2 separate regions of the Homo sapiens genome follow, and region 1 is linked to region 2. The links are contacts of gene promoters, found by promoter capture Hi-C in blood cells and fetal thymus (Javierre and others, 2016). All regions are on one chromosome and are shown on one strand. Each heading gives the region's core, a stretch centred on a gene start or on the middle of the fragment in contact. The rest is flanking DNA. Distances are from core to core; before and after follow the strand shown. Region 1 has its middle 9.7 kb from the start of CALML5. Region 2 holds the start of CALML3 (calmodulin like 3).

Region 1 (7,397 bases), core at 1,987-4,486, 35 kb after region 2:
CTGAAGATGAGAGGTCATCGAGCAGGGAGAAAGTTCAAGAGGGAGCTTCGCCAGTCTCCTGTGCGGTGGGCGTTTCTAAGGTGAGTAGAGACCACTCACCTGCTGTTTCTGGGAATTCTGCCTGACAGCAGGAATTCGCTGTGCCTCTTGGAAGCACCCATGGGTGTATGTCTCCCACCACATTCCTGCTTAGCTTCCAGGGATGTGCCGACATTCCACACCCCCGCCCTGGGCTCTGGCTGCCCAGAACCCTCTCTCCCACCTCAGGTGTCTGCTCTCCCTGCCTTCCTGGTTTCCTGGAATCCATTTCTCCAGCTCTCCATGGAACCAAATCCTGCAAATCAGCCAACCCCCACCTCTCCCTCTTCTTGGGCAGGATCCCTGACCCAGCCATGGGTCTGATCCTTCCCGGCTCTGCATGGAGGCAGCACCAATATCAGCGCACAGTTTGGGCAGGCACAGGGGGACAGGAGAGGGTCAGGCCTGGGGAGTATCTGTCGGCCAGTCCCTCCCCAGGCCATATCAGGAGGGTATGGAGTGGACGGGAGTCAGGCATGTGCACTGAGGAAGAGACACTCACTCACACCCACTCCACACACACACCAAGAGCCGCTGGCTTGCGCTGAAGCTTCCTTGTCAGGGGGTCCTTGACTTCTTGGTCGAGCCCACCAGAACAGCTTCTAAAGAATGATGGGCTCTGGTCTTGCTTAGAGGGATGCCATAGTGGGGGTGCTTCAGGCAGCAGGGATTCCAGGTGGTGGGAGCAAAGGGGAAAGGTGAACCCTGGAGTCTCCTGCAGTGGCCAGGCCAAGCCCAGACCCTCCTCCTGGGCCACCATCAGCCTTTCTACCTAGGACTGGTATTGAAGGAGGGCCCGGGGGCAGCTGCTCACAGGCTGGGGCACATTCTCTCAGGCAGTGAAGGGTCAGAGGCCTCACTGGTCTGGTCAGGCCCCAGGCCCCCGTGAGTGTGGAGTCAAGACTCCTGGGCTCCAGGCCTGAAGCTTGGGACGTGCTCTGCTGGGTGGTTTTAGGTCAGCTGCCTCCCCTGTCTGGGCTCAGCTGTGCCTTGTGTAAGGTGGGGAGGCGAGGAGCAAGAGAAACATAGTTCTTGGGAAGGAAAAGGTCACACTGGTCATCAGGAAGGCACTTCAGAATTGTCAGTCCAATGCTCACCTACACAAGCATAGACAGCAGGATAAAATGGAAACAATTTTCTAAGCAAAGACCATGTGTAAATATTTTGGAACATACCCTGCCTTTTTTTTTTTTTCCTTTTCTATCCACTCACATACTTCTATTTCTACATACTTTTCCTTCCCAGAAATGGCATCATGCAGATGACTCTGTAACCATTCTCTATCTAATGCTGTATTGTGGACACCTTTCCTTGTGAAAATAATGGAGACCCACGCCATTGCTTTTAGTGGCTGATCATATTCCATTCAATGGTTGTGTCACCCCTGGAGCCTCCAGAATGAGATGGAGAAGGAATTAAATCCCAGATCCGCTGTCCATGTGGCCTTGAGCAAATACCTTGACTTCTCTGAGTCTCGGTTTTCTTACCTGGAAAATGAGATCAATAATAATACCTGGGCTACTGGGTGCTGTGACACTAGCACTGGGTACACTGCCTGTGGAAGGTACTAGAAAGCACTCAGAGCCCACTGAAGAGCCCAGGCTTCTGGAGCGTGCTGCTGTGAGCATGTCCCAAGGTGGCCTTTGCCTGTGGAGTCCACACGTGGCCCAGTGCAGCCCCTGCCACGTAGCAGGTGCTCAGTGCTCACAGCAGGTGTGACTCATGAGTCCCCAGCCACACACACTGCCCCGGGTATGAGGGTCTAAGTGAAGAACAGTGAAGGAGAGACAGGATCCCCGGCCTGAGTTCGGCGATTCTGTCCCTCTCAGAACATCCATCATGTCATGGGAATACAGTCTGGAATCCCAGAGCCAAGGCCTGCTCCAGGCTTGTGGCCGACTTGGCATCAGGGAGTCTGGGTGCCCATGCCAGGGCTGTGGCCTTGGCAGTTGGACCCAGGGAGGGGGGCAGGGGTGAGCCCCCTACAAAGAGGGCTGTGGCAGGAAGCTCTGTGCTGATTTGGAGGTCTGGGGAATGGGCAATCAGAGAAGCATTAAGGAAGGAGAGAAGTGAAGCCACTCAGACAGCCTAGGGAGGCAGAAGACCTGTCTGGGGCAGACAGAATAACAGAGACAGGGTGTTCTAAGCCAGTTGTTCATTGTTGTTGAGCCCATTCTTAAGAAGGGCTTTGATGGGGCCACAAAGCAATAAGAAAGCAGCAGATTCTCTGAATCTACTGTCCCAAGAGACGAAGAAGGGAACTTGAGGGACTGGAGAGGAAGTGGCTCACTTCAGGTCTTAGAGCGAGGTGCTAAGAAGGACCTGGAGTGGAATTCAAGGGCTCAGAAGGGGGTCAGGGGACTGCCTTCAAGGGGTGCTTCCTGGGCATACTCTGCCCAGGGACTGGTTTTGAGGTGGGGGTCTGGTGGTGGGGTTGGTTGGGACCCACATAGTGGAATGTCTTCCGGAAGCTGGTGACTGTGAGTTACGAGAGATGCACAGACATGGCCTCTCTGCCGACTCTGAATGGCCTTGAAGACCCTCAAGGGCAGAGACCAGGCTATGCTCCACGTCTGGGTCCACAAGGGTGCCCGGTCTCAGCTCAGAACACCAAAGAGAGTAGACAGAGCCCAGGAAGCATCCGAGCAGCTGGCGCAGCTTCAGGTCACTTAGGAAAACCCAGTTCTTTGAAAGCTGCTTCTCTGAAAATTGACTTGCCAGAAGCTTAGTTCTGCAAATGGTAAACGTGCTGGTATTTCCCAACTTACTAAAAAGTTTTTTTTAAAGGATACTTAATAAAGATCACAGAAATTCATATTGGATGAGCTATTCTAAGTTGTTGACTATTTCTTTGACGTTTTATTTACTGAGTTTAAATTTTTAGTTTTGTTCAGTTCTACTTTTAGTAAATTATTTTAGCGGCAGTCAGTTCACCTAACCATTGTACCATAACCTGACAGTGTTTAAAGTTGTCTGTTTTTGTTTTGTTGTTTCATTTTTAGCATTTTGGTTCAATGGTTTTGGAGAAAGAGAGCTTCTGGTTCATTTCAAGATTCAGCCATTGGACACGTCTTCAACGTCCAGGATTTTAGAGATTGGCAGCTTTCTTTCCCCTAATAGAATTTCAACTTAAATCTATTGCTTTAGTACTTCTTTCAATTCACTGATTTATTCACTGGCTCAATCAAATGGATATTTTGCAAGTGGTTTAAGTATTTGGTAAGTGCTTGGAGTCTGAAATATGAATCACACATGAAACTGACATTCAGCAGGGGAGAACTGCACTCATGAAGCTACTGGAGTTGACTTGGGTGGGACAGCATTGGGGAAACCAAAACTAATTTCAAGTAAAGCAAAACTTCCCCCAAATCTTCCAAGAGGTTCTTCAGTAGATTGATTTGTCGGTAGATTGAATTACTCTACTTCTGATCCAAATACATGTTTCAAATTTCATATACGAAATAATACATTTTCTTCATTGGATTGCCCCCTGGATCTTTTAAATCCTAGTTTATATCCATCCTGGTAGGCCTGGTGACCCAATCCTTCTGTTAAGTTCCACATCAAATGCCTCCTGCTTTTGGAAGCTTTCCACAGCCGGGCCTGGCGCAGAGGGGGTTCCTCTGCACCTCTTTTCCAAGCAAATGGCTGAAGGTGATCTCTCCCTATTTGTACAGTTCCTTCCAGAGTGCACCTCTTACGTCATTCCTAGTGGACAAGGCCTATTCTCCATCCTCAGAACCCTGAATAGTGAAATAAAGCCCATCAATGCTTAAACTAGATGACAGGCTCCTCAAGTGTGTTGGATTCTGCATGAAACCCTCCACATGCACTGTGATGGCACGACCTGGCAGGCTCCTTTGCCCGGGAGGCCTCATCTCCAGCATGGGGGAGATGGCTTCCGTAGTGCTGATGGGATTAAAGGAAATCTTCACAGAGTTGTACTCTGCAACAAGAGGAAGAGTCAGAAATGCAACTGCAGAGAGAGGACTCCTGTCTTGTTCTCTCTTTTTGTTGTCCAAGAACCATGAAAATAGTCCTCGTATGATCACAAAATCCCAACTCATCCCCTCTTGGTCCAAACATAGGGAGAATCAAAGGCATGTCACCCTGCCAGGTAGTCAAAGATGTGGACTCCAGACCTCTAAGACCAGCTTTTAAGAGTTCAAGCCATTGTTTCTCTCTCCACAGTGGGTCCCCCTTTTATAAAAACAACAACAACAAAACTCATCAAGAACAGATTCCCAACAGGTATGGTGATCATGTGTTCCAGAAACAATTTAGGTAGAGTATTCTATCTCAGTTTCTCTGGAAATGAGTCCAGCTTTTAGTTTTTGCATGTGAACCACGGCCGCAGTGCCTAGGCTGCGCAGGTCGCCCTCCGTTCCCGCTGGAGAAGCAGGTGAGGCCTTCCCAGCCTGGGCCCAGTGCAGTCAGGCCCTGCCCAGCCCACAGATGCCTGCACCTTGCTCCTCCCCTGGCTTCCCTCTCACGTGGCTGCAGCTGGGGCAAAGGCCCAACGACTCCTTCTGTAAGCTTCTTCTTGCTTTTGCACTGTTTACCATCTCCAGGTGTGAGCTCATCTCTTTCCCCACCACAGGTGGCCCCACCCGATCTCAGCTCTGCCTTTCCCGCCTCTCTGCTGGGTTGCATAAGCCAGCGATTCCCAACCCCGGCTGCACCTGGAAGCTACCCCAGGAGCTTCTGGAGAATGTGCCGTGTGAGCCATCCCCCTGCACTGAGCCCTGGTGGGTCAGCGGTGGGGGCGCCCAGGCGTGGGGGTCTATTTAAAGCTCCCAGGTGCTGTGCGGCCAAGATTAAGAGGCACTGCTCCAAACTGTCCTGGCAACTCTGACTGTACCCGGCACTCCCCACGCCCAACCTCCCTTCTGCCCCTGGGCAGGTTGGCATCCAGTGTCGGGGAGAACCCTGGAGGCGAACGCCAGCCTTATAGAGCCCCACTGTTGGGAGGCCTGCAGGTTGGACAAGGCGAGGTCTGAGTCACCTTGGTTGGGAGCAGATGCTGCCCTGTTGGTGGCCTGCCAGCCTCTGTCCCCACCCCACCACTCAGAGACATGGTGTGCCTGCACTTTCCTGATCCGGGAGCTCCTGCCTTGCTGCCCAGATGACCTTTGGCCTAGGAAGAAGTCAAATCTCAGTGTTTTGGACCGGGCACGGTGACTCACAACTGGAATCCCAGCACTTTGGAAACCCGAGGTAGGTGGATCACTTGAGGCCAGGAGTTCGAGACTAACCTGGCCAACATGGTGAAACCCCATCTTCACTAAAAATACAAAAATTAAGGCGTGGTGGCAGGCACCTATAATCCAAACGACTCAGGAGGCTGAGGCAGTTGAATTGCTTAAACCTGGGAGGCGGAGCTTGCAGTGAGCCGAGATCGCACCACTGTACTCCAGCCTGGGCGGCAGAGCAAGACTCCGTCTCAAACAAAAACAAAAACAAAACAAACAAAAACAAATCTCAGTGCTTTTGATGAACAGTATTTTCCTGCACCGGGAGCCTTGTGGTCGTGGCTTCATGGAGGAGGTGTTGGTGACTTTCATTCACTCACTCACTATTCTACAAGTGTTTCCTTGGGTGCTTCTCCTTACTGTGAGTCTGCAGGGACTTGGAGGGAGACGCTGCGCCGGCCTCTGGGCCCAGGAGATGTAACATAAATGGCCATGCAAAGACAGTGGGTCAGGTCCCTCGTCAGTGGATTCCCATTCGAGGAGGTGCTCAGAGAAGGGGACAGACTTCCAGGAAGTGGCACTGAGGCGGGGGCAGATTTCAACAGGGGTGGGGCGTTCTTGGTGAGGAAACTGCATGAGTGACGGTTTGGAAGTGGGAGCGTCAGTGTCTTTTGGGGAGCCCGCGCTGCCTGGGAGGTAAGGGAGAGGTCCGAATGCCGTCGCAGACAGCCTGATGGTTTGCTGAAGGAGTCTGGATCCTTTTCAAGTCCCAGTGAAGCCTGGTGATATGGCCTTGGGCAAGTCAGTGGCTCTCTCTGCCTCAGTCTCCTCAACTGTAGCTGGGGGTAACAGTGAGACCCGCCTCAACGTGGTTGTGAGGAGGGTGGGGGGTGGGGGATGTGGAGAAAGTGCTAAGAACAGCGTCTGTGGGGCCGCAGAAGTGTTTTGCATAATGTCACCAAGATTAGTGCTATTTCTTCCCCAGAAGATCAGATGGAGACTCACGGAAGGTTTTTAACCTGTGGGGACGTGCGGCCAAATTGTGCTTTAGGAAGCTTATGCTGGCAGTGATGTGTGGTATGAAGGAGGGCAAGGGAGATGGGCCCTGTAGGAGGCAGATTCGGCCACCTAAGCCTGAGCTGATTAGGACAGGAGGGAAGGTGGAGGCAGTCAGCAGAGAAAGGAAGGGACGTGGGGAGGGGAAGCAGAGAGGAAGGCGTTGGAGGGACAGGGCCTGACTTAGTAACCCCGGGGCCTTGAGCAGTTCTGGACGAGGTGGGAGGGGAGTGAGCAGGGGACGGGAGAGACTCCAGCCCCACCAGGCTGAGCCGTGTCCACACCCTGCCGGGTCAGAGTTACTGCTGGTACCATCGGGAGGGTGGGCCAACCAGGCCCATCTGGCCTCTTGCCTGTCAGATGGTGGAAGCATGTCAGAGTTCTCAGAATCCTGGAGCCACTGAGAGCCGGAGGAGCCCTTGTCCAAGACTCAGGCTGTGATCGGAACAGGGTAGAAGGTGCTGCTTCTAACCCTGGGGCCTGCCTGTCTCCAGAATTTGGAGAAAAGGAAAGTCCTGGACTCCTCTCAAGCCAGGAAGGTGCTGACCAGGAGGGGAGGGTCAGGGAGAGGGGAGTCAGCAGGGACAGCTGCCTCTCCTCCGCCTGCAGGCCCAGGCCCTTCCTAATCTCCAGCTCCACCAGCTTCAAGGCAGAATCTGAATCCACACAGAGTCTGAGGTATCTTGGAAACCCTCTCCTTCCCTCTTGGATGTGTGGACTGTCAGACATTGTGAAGAGGAGAAGAGGAAGAGGAAAGACGCTGCCCCCAGTATGCAGACAGAGAGCACCCCGTTCCAGAGAGGCCAGCGCTCCAGGAGTGACAGCTGCTAATGCCCTTCTTCCTTCAGTCTCCCTGCCCCAGCTACCCTCTCCCTCCCTCCTCTCCCTCCTTCCCTTTCTTCCCGCAGCAAAACACACGGAGCCCAGTGATCTGCAGGCACAGTGCCGGGCCCTAGCGCTCCATGGGCACAAGTGACAGCTGTGGCCGAGGTCGGGGAGGGTGCTGGACTGGAAGCCTTGGGAGGCTCTGAGCACACAGGATTTGGGGCTGATACTATTGAGGGTCAGAGG
Region 2 (6,669 bases), core at 2,466-4,965:
ATGATTGCACCACTGCACTCCAGCCTAGGTGACAGAGCAAGATCCTATCTCAAAAAAAAAAAAAATGTGTTTAAACACCAAGGGGGAGGGGAGGGGTCATTCACCTTTGCCACAGGACGCACTTTGACCTTGCTGCCTCTGGCTTCTGTCTGTATAAAGAAGACACCTCCGGCCAGGCGCGGTCGCTCATGCCTGTAATCCCAGCAATTTGGGAGGTTGAGGCGGGCGGATCACGAGGTCAGGAGATCGAGACCATCCTGGCTAACACGGTGAAACCCCATCTCTACTAAAAACATAAAAAGTTAGCCGGGCGTGGTGGTGGGTGCCTGTAGTCCCAGCTACTCGGGAGGCTGAGGCAGGAGAATGGCGTGAACCAGGGAGGCAGAGGTTGCAGTGAGCTGGGATCACGCCACTGCACTCCAGCCTGGGGATCAGAGCCAGACTCTGTCTCAAAAAAAAAAAAAAAAAAAAAGACACCTCCACTTACTACTCTGCTTCTGAGGACTCCCCCTCAGGGAGGATCTGGGGCTGCCAGTTCTAAGCTGAGAGCAGGTAGGACCTTTCCACCACCCCAGCCAGTGCCTGCCTGAGCACAAAGAGCTCTTGATGAAAGGCTCCCAGCACCTGCAAAATCCAGGCCCAGGTGGCTCCAGAATGACTGGTGTGTGGGGTTGCAAAAAGACCTGCCCTGGCGGAATCGCTGGGAGGCTGGGAGGAAGACAAATAAAGACACTGGCGTGCCCTCCTGGCCCAGGCATTGGCAGTGCGTAGGTCCCAACCCTTGTAAGAGCCTCAAGCCTGCACCTGGGAAGAAGGGGCTTAGATGTCAAACCTCAGCCACGTGTATGACAGTGACTACAAAGATGCCCTGTGCAGGGAGACCTTGGTTTCTCTCCTTCCTGCAGAATTTAGGAGACATTCTACAAAAGGTACTCAGGCCTGATGTACTATTCCTTTTGCCTGGCGGTCAGCAGCCATGTGGGGGCTTCTGCCTGCCCCTCCTGCTCACAGCCCCCCACCCCCTGGGGTGCTGCTGCCCAATGAACTCTAGACACTCTGTCCATGTGTTTATGAGGCTTGTTCCCAAATCTTCCCCAGGACGTGTCCAATCAACCCCGACTCCTGAGAGTGGCAGGGAGGGGTGGGGATTTGCTCAGCAAGCTGAGCCTTAGCTTGCCCTCTGCTTCTGTTCCCCTGACAGGAGTACCTGCAGTTACACCGGCCCTGGGCCAGTGCTCACCTGACACCCCACCATCCAGCATCCCCTCAGGAATCCAGCCCCAGAGCACCTGCTTCTGCCCCTTTCTGCTCTTGTCTTGTTCTCGAGCTATGGAGAGGGGTGACTACCCTGGACAGTCTTGCAGTATTAGAGCAGGAAGGGATCTTGAAGGTGATGGTAACAGTAGCTGCCATTATTAAGCACCTACTACATGCCAGGTGTGTTAAGAATGTTGTTCTGGCTCCTCACAAGTGCTGGAGAGAGGCGCTACCGTAGTTACCATGATGGAGGCACAGGTTGGTGTCAGACCTGTAGCTGAGTGGTCAGGGCACAGACCTGACTGAAATCCCAGGTCTGCCTCTTACCCACTGGTGGGACCCAGGGCTGCTTTCTAAAGCCCTCTGTGTCTCCACTTCCTCGTTTGTAAGATGAGGAAGGTAATAATAGTGGCTGCCCCATAGGGAGGTGCCAATTGTCTATGCAGGCCAAGTGCTTGATGGTGCCCTGAGCCCAAGCAGGTGGCATGAGGGTCCTGTCATCCTGGAGGTCCCAGTGGTGCAGTGATGATGGCAAGGCCGGGGCTGGGGCCCAGCTCTTTGTTTTACAAAGGAGGAAACACTGGGTGTTGGTGGGCGGGGGTGGGGTGTCAGGGAGAGAGGATACATCCACCATGGCCTTTTCTGATGAGCTCCGTCTAGTGCCCATCCCGCAAAACATACCTCCCTTTAGAATTGAAGGGATCTCTGGCAGGGCCCCTTCGACCTTCTCTAGGTGTTGCCAGCAGCTTGCAGGGCTAGTGCAGGACTAACGGCTCTGAATTGCTCTTACACTGTGTGTGCCCAACTGCCCCCCAACCCCTCACCATCTCTAGTGCCTGGCACTTCACAACCAGGGAGCACTTGCCAGGGGGAATCAAAGCAATCAGCAGGTCCCTTCTCAACGTAATGGACTCAGGTCTTTCAAGTCCTGATGGACTTTTAACCACTCTTTGCTGCCAGCGTATCCATTTGATTGAGAATATTCAATATTTCCCTCATCCAGACTTGTCTCTCTCTGAGGCACCTTTCCCGCTCCCCCGTATAGGAATTCATTGCATTTTCAAAAAGCACAAAAATGGAGATTCCTGCCTCGTTTCAACCCTGAATTTAACAAGGATCATTTCCATGGAAACCAAAAAAAAAAAGGAAATGAAATAAGGACGAATATCTCATTTATTTCCCTGCAGCTCTCATCCCCTGCTCATCCAAGCCTCCCTCCTTCCAGATGAATAGGAACAGGTTACAGCTGACCCAGTTTCACTCCCAGCTTCAGAAGATGAATCACGGTGGGTTGGCGGACAAGGAATGGGGCAAGCTGGGGCAGCGCGGAAGGCAGTGCTGTTTTCAGGAGGCCTGACCTCTGTGGCCAGAGTCCCCGTCAGCACCGCTTACTGCAGGCCAAGATGCCTCCCACCCTCCAGAATCCGACCGCGGAGGGAGCTTCCAGTCCAGGAGCCTGCGGGAATCCTGGCGGGGGCTGAGGGCTGCAGCCCCCCTGGCCTGGGCATTGGGTGCCTCTTAGGGATCTTGCCTGGGTGCCCTAAGGGGTCACCCGGTGTCCGTCCTGGAGGGCCGCAGAGTCAGCGCAACCTGCCCTGGTGCTCGGTCCTAAGGTCAGCTCTGCTTCTCCCGAGTGGGGAGGGCGTCACGGTTTGCCTGCAGTGGGAGCGTTCCGTGTCATTCAGACGAGCAGGTGGGAAGGTCGGCAGGAGTGCAGAGAAGAGACGCGGGAAGCGGGATGCAGAGAGGTGGGCTGAATCAACCAGGCGCAGGAGGAAGCCACAGTGCCCAGGGGAGGCAGGGGGATGGGGGAGGAGGCGGGAGGCCCCGGGTTCTTGCCCTGTGGGCCGCGTGGGCGCCCAGGAGCATGGTGGGCGCCGGCCTCACTTGGACACCAGCACACGGACAAACTCCTCGTAGTTCACCTGTCCGTCTCCGTCCGTGTCCGCGGCCCGGATCATCTCGTCCACCTCCTCGTCACTCAGCTTCTCCCCCAGCCGGGTCATGACGTGTCGCAGCTCGGCGGCGCTGACGAAGCCGTTGCCGTCCTTGTCGAACACGCGGAAGGCCTCGCGGATCTCCTCCTCGTTGTCCGTGTCCTTCATCTTCCTGGCCATCATGCCCAGGAACTCGGGGAAGTCCACGGTGCCGTTGCCGTCCCGGTCGATCTCACTCATCATGTCCCGCAGCTCGGCCTCCGTGGGGTTCTGGCCCAGGGACCGCATGACCGTGCCCAGCTCGCGGGTGGTGATGCAGCCGTCCCCATCCTTGTCAAACAGGGAGAAGGCCTCCTTGAATTCTGTGACCTGCTCCTCAGTCAGCTGGTCGGCCATGCCAGGGGTGGGGGCGTGGGTGGCAGAAGAGGCCACTGTGGGGTCTCCCTCCCAGTGCCGCAGCCCGGCTGCTGTCCCAGCTCTGGGGTGGCAGGTGGAGATCCGGGCGGCCGGCGGGCTGTCTCGCCCTGGCTTGAGACGCTGGAGCTTAAGAAGCAGCAGAGTCCTCCCCCATCATTGGCAGACGCCCCTGCCCTGCGGTTGCCCGGGCCTGTCCTGTTTAGACAGGAGTCCAGGGCCTGCGAATCGAGCTGACGCCAGCACCTCTGTGCCTGCTTGCACCTGGACCCAGCAGAGCCACGGGGGCCCCGAATCACACCTGCAGTCAGGGCGTGGTGGGTGAGCTTTGGAGCAATCCACGCTGGACTCCTTCCTCCTGAATTTCCCTTTCTCTCCTCCCTCCCCGTCTCCCACCTGCCGCCTGTCTCCCACTCAATAAACTCCAGTGCCCTTTCTTCCCTTGAGTGGAGGGCTTTTTGCAGGATGAAAGGCAGATGAAAGAAACGTCCTTGCCTTTGGTTTCTAAAGCCTCATATAGAACAGGAGGGTTTTTGGAGGAGGAAGGTTTTCCCTTCAGGTAGAAGCAGCGAGTTTTCTTATCTTCAGAATGGACATGAATAGGGAGGGGTTTCCTCCAACCCATTCACTCATCCACCCTTTCACAGATATTTGAGTGCCTACTAGGTGCAGTGTCACTCTGGAAGCTGGGAACACAGTGGGACCGGCAAGCCACCCCCAGTCCTCGTGAGGTTAACTAGCAAGACAGCTAGTTTGCAGGTCAACTGATCGAGGAATGCAAACAAGGTGACTAGGGATTATTGATAAATGCTGATGGACATACAAGGTGGTGATGGACAGGACCCCGAGGTCACCTTTCAGCCTGGTCAAGGACAGACCTCCTGCTGAGAAGCAGCTGTCTAGGCCGGAGTGGCCATGGCAGGGCCAAGGGCTGGAAGATGATCAGTGGGGCTGCAGGCCTGTGAGGGAGGGGACAAGGAGGAGAGACAAAGGAGACCTTGAAGGGCTCAGCCAGGAAGTCCCACTATCATTCTCTGGTCCACATTGCCCCAGGAGCTCCGGGCAGCATGGAGCTGGGGCTGTGGAGCGGCCTCTCCCAGAGGAGACCCGCTTAGGGGGATAGTGGGGTGTTCACAGCACAGACTCGGCTCCCACTCCCAGGGGGCCTGGAGACATGACCCCCAGAGAGGCAGGAGCAGGCGCTTCACCTGTGGGAATCCAAGAAATCCACACTGGGGGAGAAACATGGAGCCCACTCTATTTTTTGCTGGGTGTGTGGGGGTGGGGTAGAGACCGGAAAGGGAAAGAAAGTGTCCTTTTGAGGACCTGGACTTGCCGAGGAGAGACTATGGCAGGAGAAGGGCTCGGATATTCATTTTTTTTCTCTCTGATTTTCCTTCCCTTCTCTATTCAAGTAGAGGCAAGTGTGTCCTTCTGGTCTGGAGGGGGTCTGTGGTAGGGGGAAAATTGAAGCCACCTGCAAGACACCTTCCTTCCTACCTGAGGGCTCCCACAAAGCCTGTGTCCTGAGGGTTTGGGCAGGAGGAAGCAGGAAGGTTGAAGAATCCCTCCATCCCCATGGAATCTTTTCCTTAGAAGAGAAGTTTGTGGACCCCAGAGCAGCAGGGCTCAGGGATGTGGTGGCCACAGGCAGCCTTGGCAAAGAGCCCTGGGGCCCAGGGGTGGCGTGGAGGGAACGAGGTGATGGGCATCTTGGAAGCCACGTGTGTGGGTGACACTTTGGTGACCAGATCCCACCCTCCCCTCCTTTCTCACCCCAGAATATTCGGCCTTGCCTGAGACCTCACACCCCAACAGCTCTAGGGGAGTGGGGAGATGGGCTGGCCAGGACTCCCTGGGGTAGGAGAGGGGCTGATAATAAAGTTTAGATTTAGAGAGAAAAATGAGGCAGCATCTCCATTTGCAGGCTGGGAGCATGCCCTGGGCCCAGGTTACAGCTCTGTCCACAGGGGGCTGCGCAAGAAAGAGTGTGTGCTTTGCTCCTGGGAGCCCCGCCCTTCCTCGAATATTCTGGAGATCTCTTTTGTGGTGGGGAGACCCAGCAAAGGCTGCACACACAGCTTGCTCAAGGTCACCCCATGAAAAGTTCAGCTGGGGATCAAGGTCCCTTTTTTATTTTGGGGTTTTTTGGGGGCTAATTCTGGGACATGGGGACCTTCTGTCACCTTCTGAGAAGGGCTCTTGATTGTACACTGGTGCCTGATGCCTGAGTGTTAGAATTCATATCCCAAACGCACTTTAAAAATATTTAAATATCTCCGCTCTAGATCACCCGAATACCCAAAAATAGCAGGTTAGTAACAAATACCTGAAATTTCCTCCACACCATGAAATAATACACAGCCTTTAAAATGAGGATGAGGATATAACAATGGAAAGGTTTCCATGGAAAATTTTTAAAAAGCAGATAGAAAACTGTATATGTGATATGATTTCATGTATTAAACATTTATATATGTTTATTTATATACATTCACAGAAGAAACGCCTAGATAATCATGTACCAAACTCTTAATAGTGGATACTTTGGATAATAGGATTATAAGTGCTTTTAATTTTCTTATAAATGTAGTATCTTTGCTCATTTAAAAATGTTTTATATTTGCCATATATCATTTCTATTATTAGGGGAAATGACTGAAGATTCAAAAACCATCCCTGATAAAAAATATTCCATATCTTACTGAACTCCCAATATTCTTTCTCTTTCTCTGAGGTTAGGTAATGTGGAGGGCCTGGTAATATTGTCAGCTTTATATCTCTCAGAGATATGAGACTATGGTGAGCATAGCTATTATTATGTATAGAAAAGCAGAATAATTAATAGCCAATAACCACACCCCCTATTTGACTGCCAGAGTGACCATCTAGTGGAAAAGATGCTATGAAGCATTTTTCTTCTACTTTCCCTGCCTAGGGGCTGGAGAGACTTCTTCATGAAGGAATACAGGGACAGTCACAGGAGACAGGAGCACCAAGGGATTCGGACATGTGGCTGACACAGTCTTCTGGAGAGCCCCGGATGGCATCAGGGGGAAAC

What was found. Contacts are between HindIII fragments. The CHiCAGO score rates a contact against its expected background, and 5 or more counts as called.
Region 1: a fragment that was not itself captured here is called in contact with the fragment with the promoter of CALML3 in region 2 in 1 of 17 cell types (megakaryocytes); the score reaches 6.0 in megakaryocytes.

What each region holds. Positions count from the first base shown.
Region 1 is chr10:5,486,173-5,493,569 of GRCh38, reverse strand. No RefSeq gene overlaps it. Among named protein-coding and RNA genes, the nearest start is that of CALML5, 9.7 kb to the left of the region's middle. RefSeq lists a silencer at 144-322. The HindIII fragment of the contact is 863 bases long and covers 2,805-3,667 here.
Region 2 is chr10:5,522,007-5,528,675 of GRCh38, reverse strand. CALML3 (calmodulin like 3) reads right to left here and starts at 3,715. Exons shown (of 1, transcript NM_005185.4): 1 at 1,905-3,715. The coding sequence starts at 3,590. The coding sequence ends at 3,141. CALML3-AS1 (CALML3 antisense RNA 1) reads left to right here and starts at 2,430. Exons shown (of 3, transcript NR_120497.1): 1 at 2,430-2,543; 2 at 6,547-6,669. RefSeq lists enhancers at 2,010-2,710, 2,711-3,410. The HindIII fragment of the contact is 11,209 bases long and covers 1-6,669 here.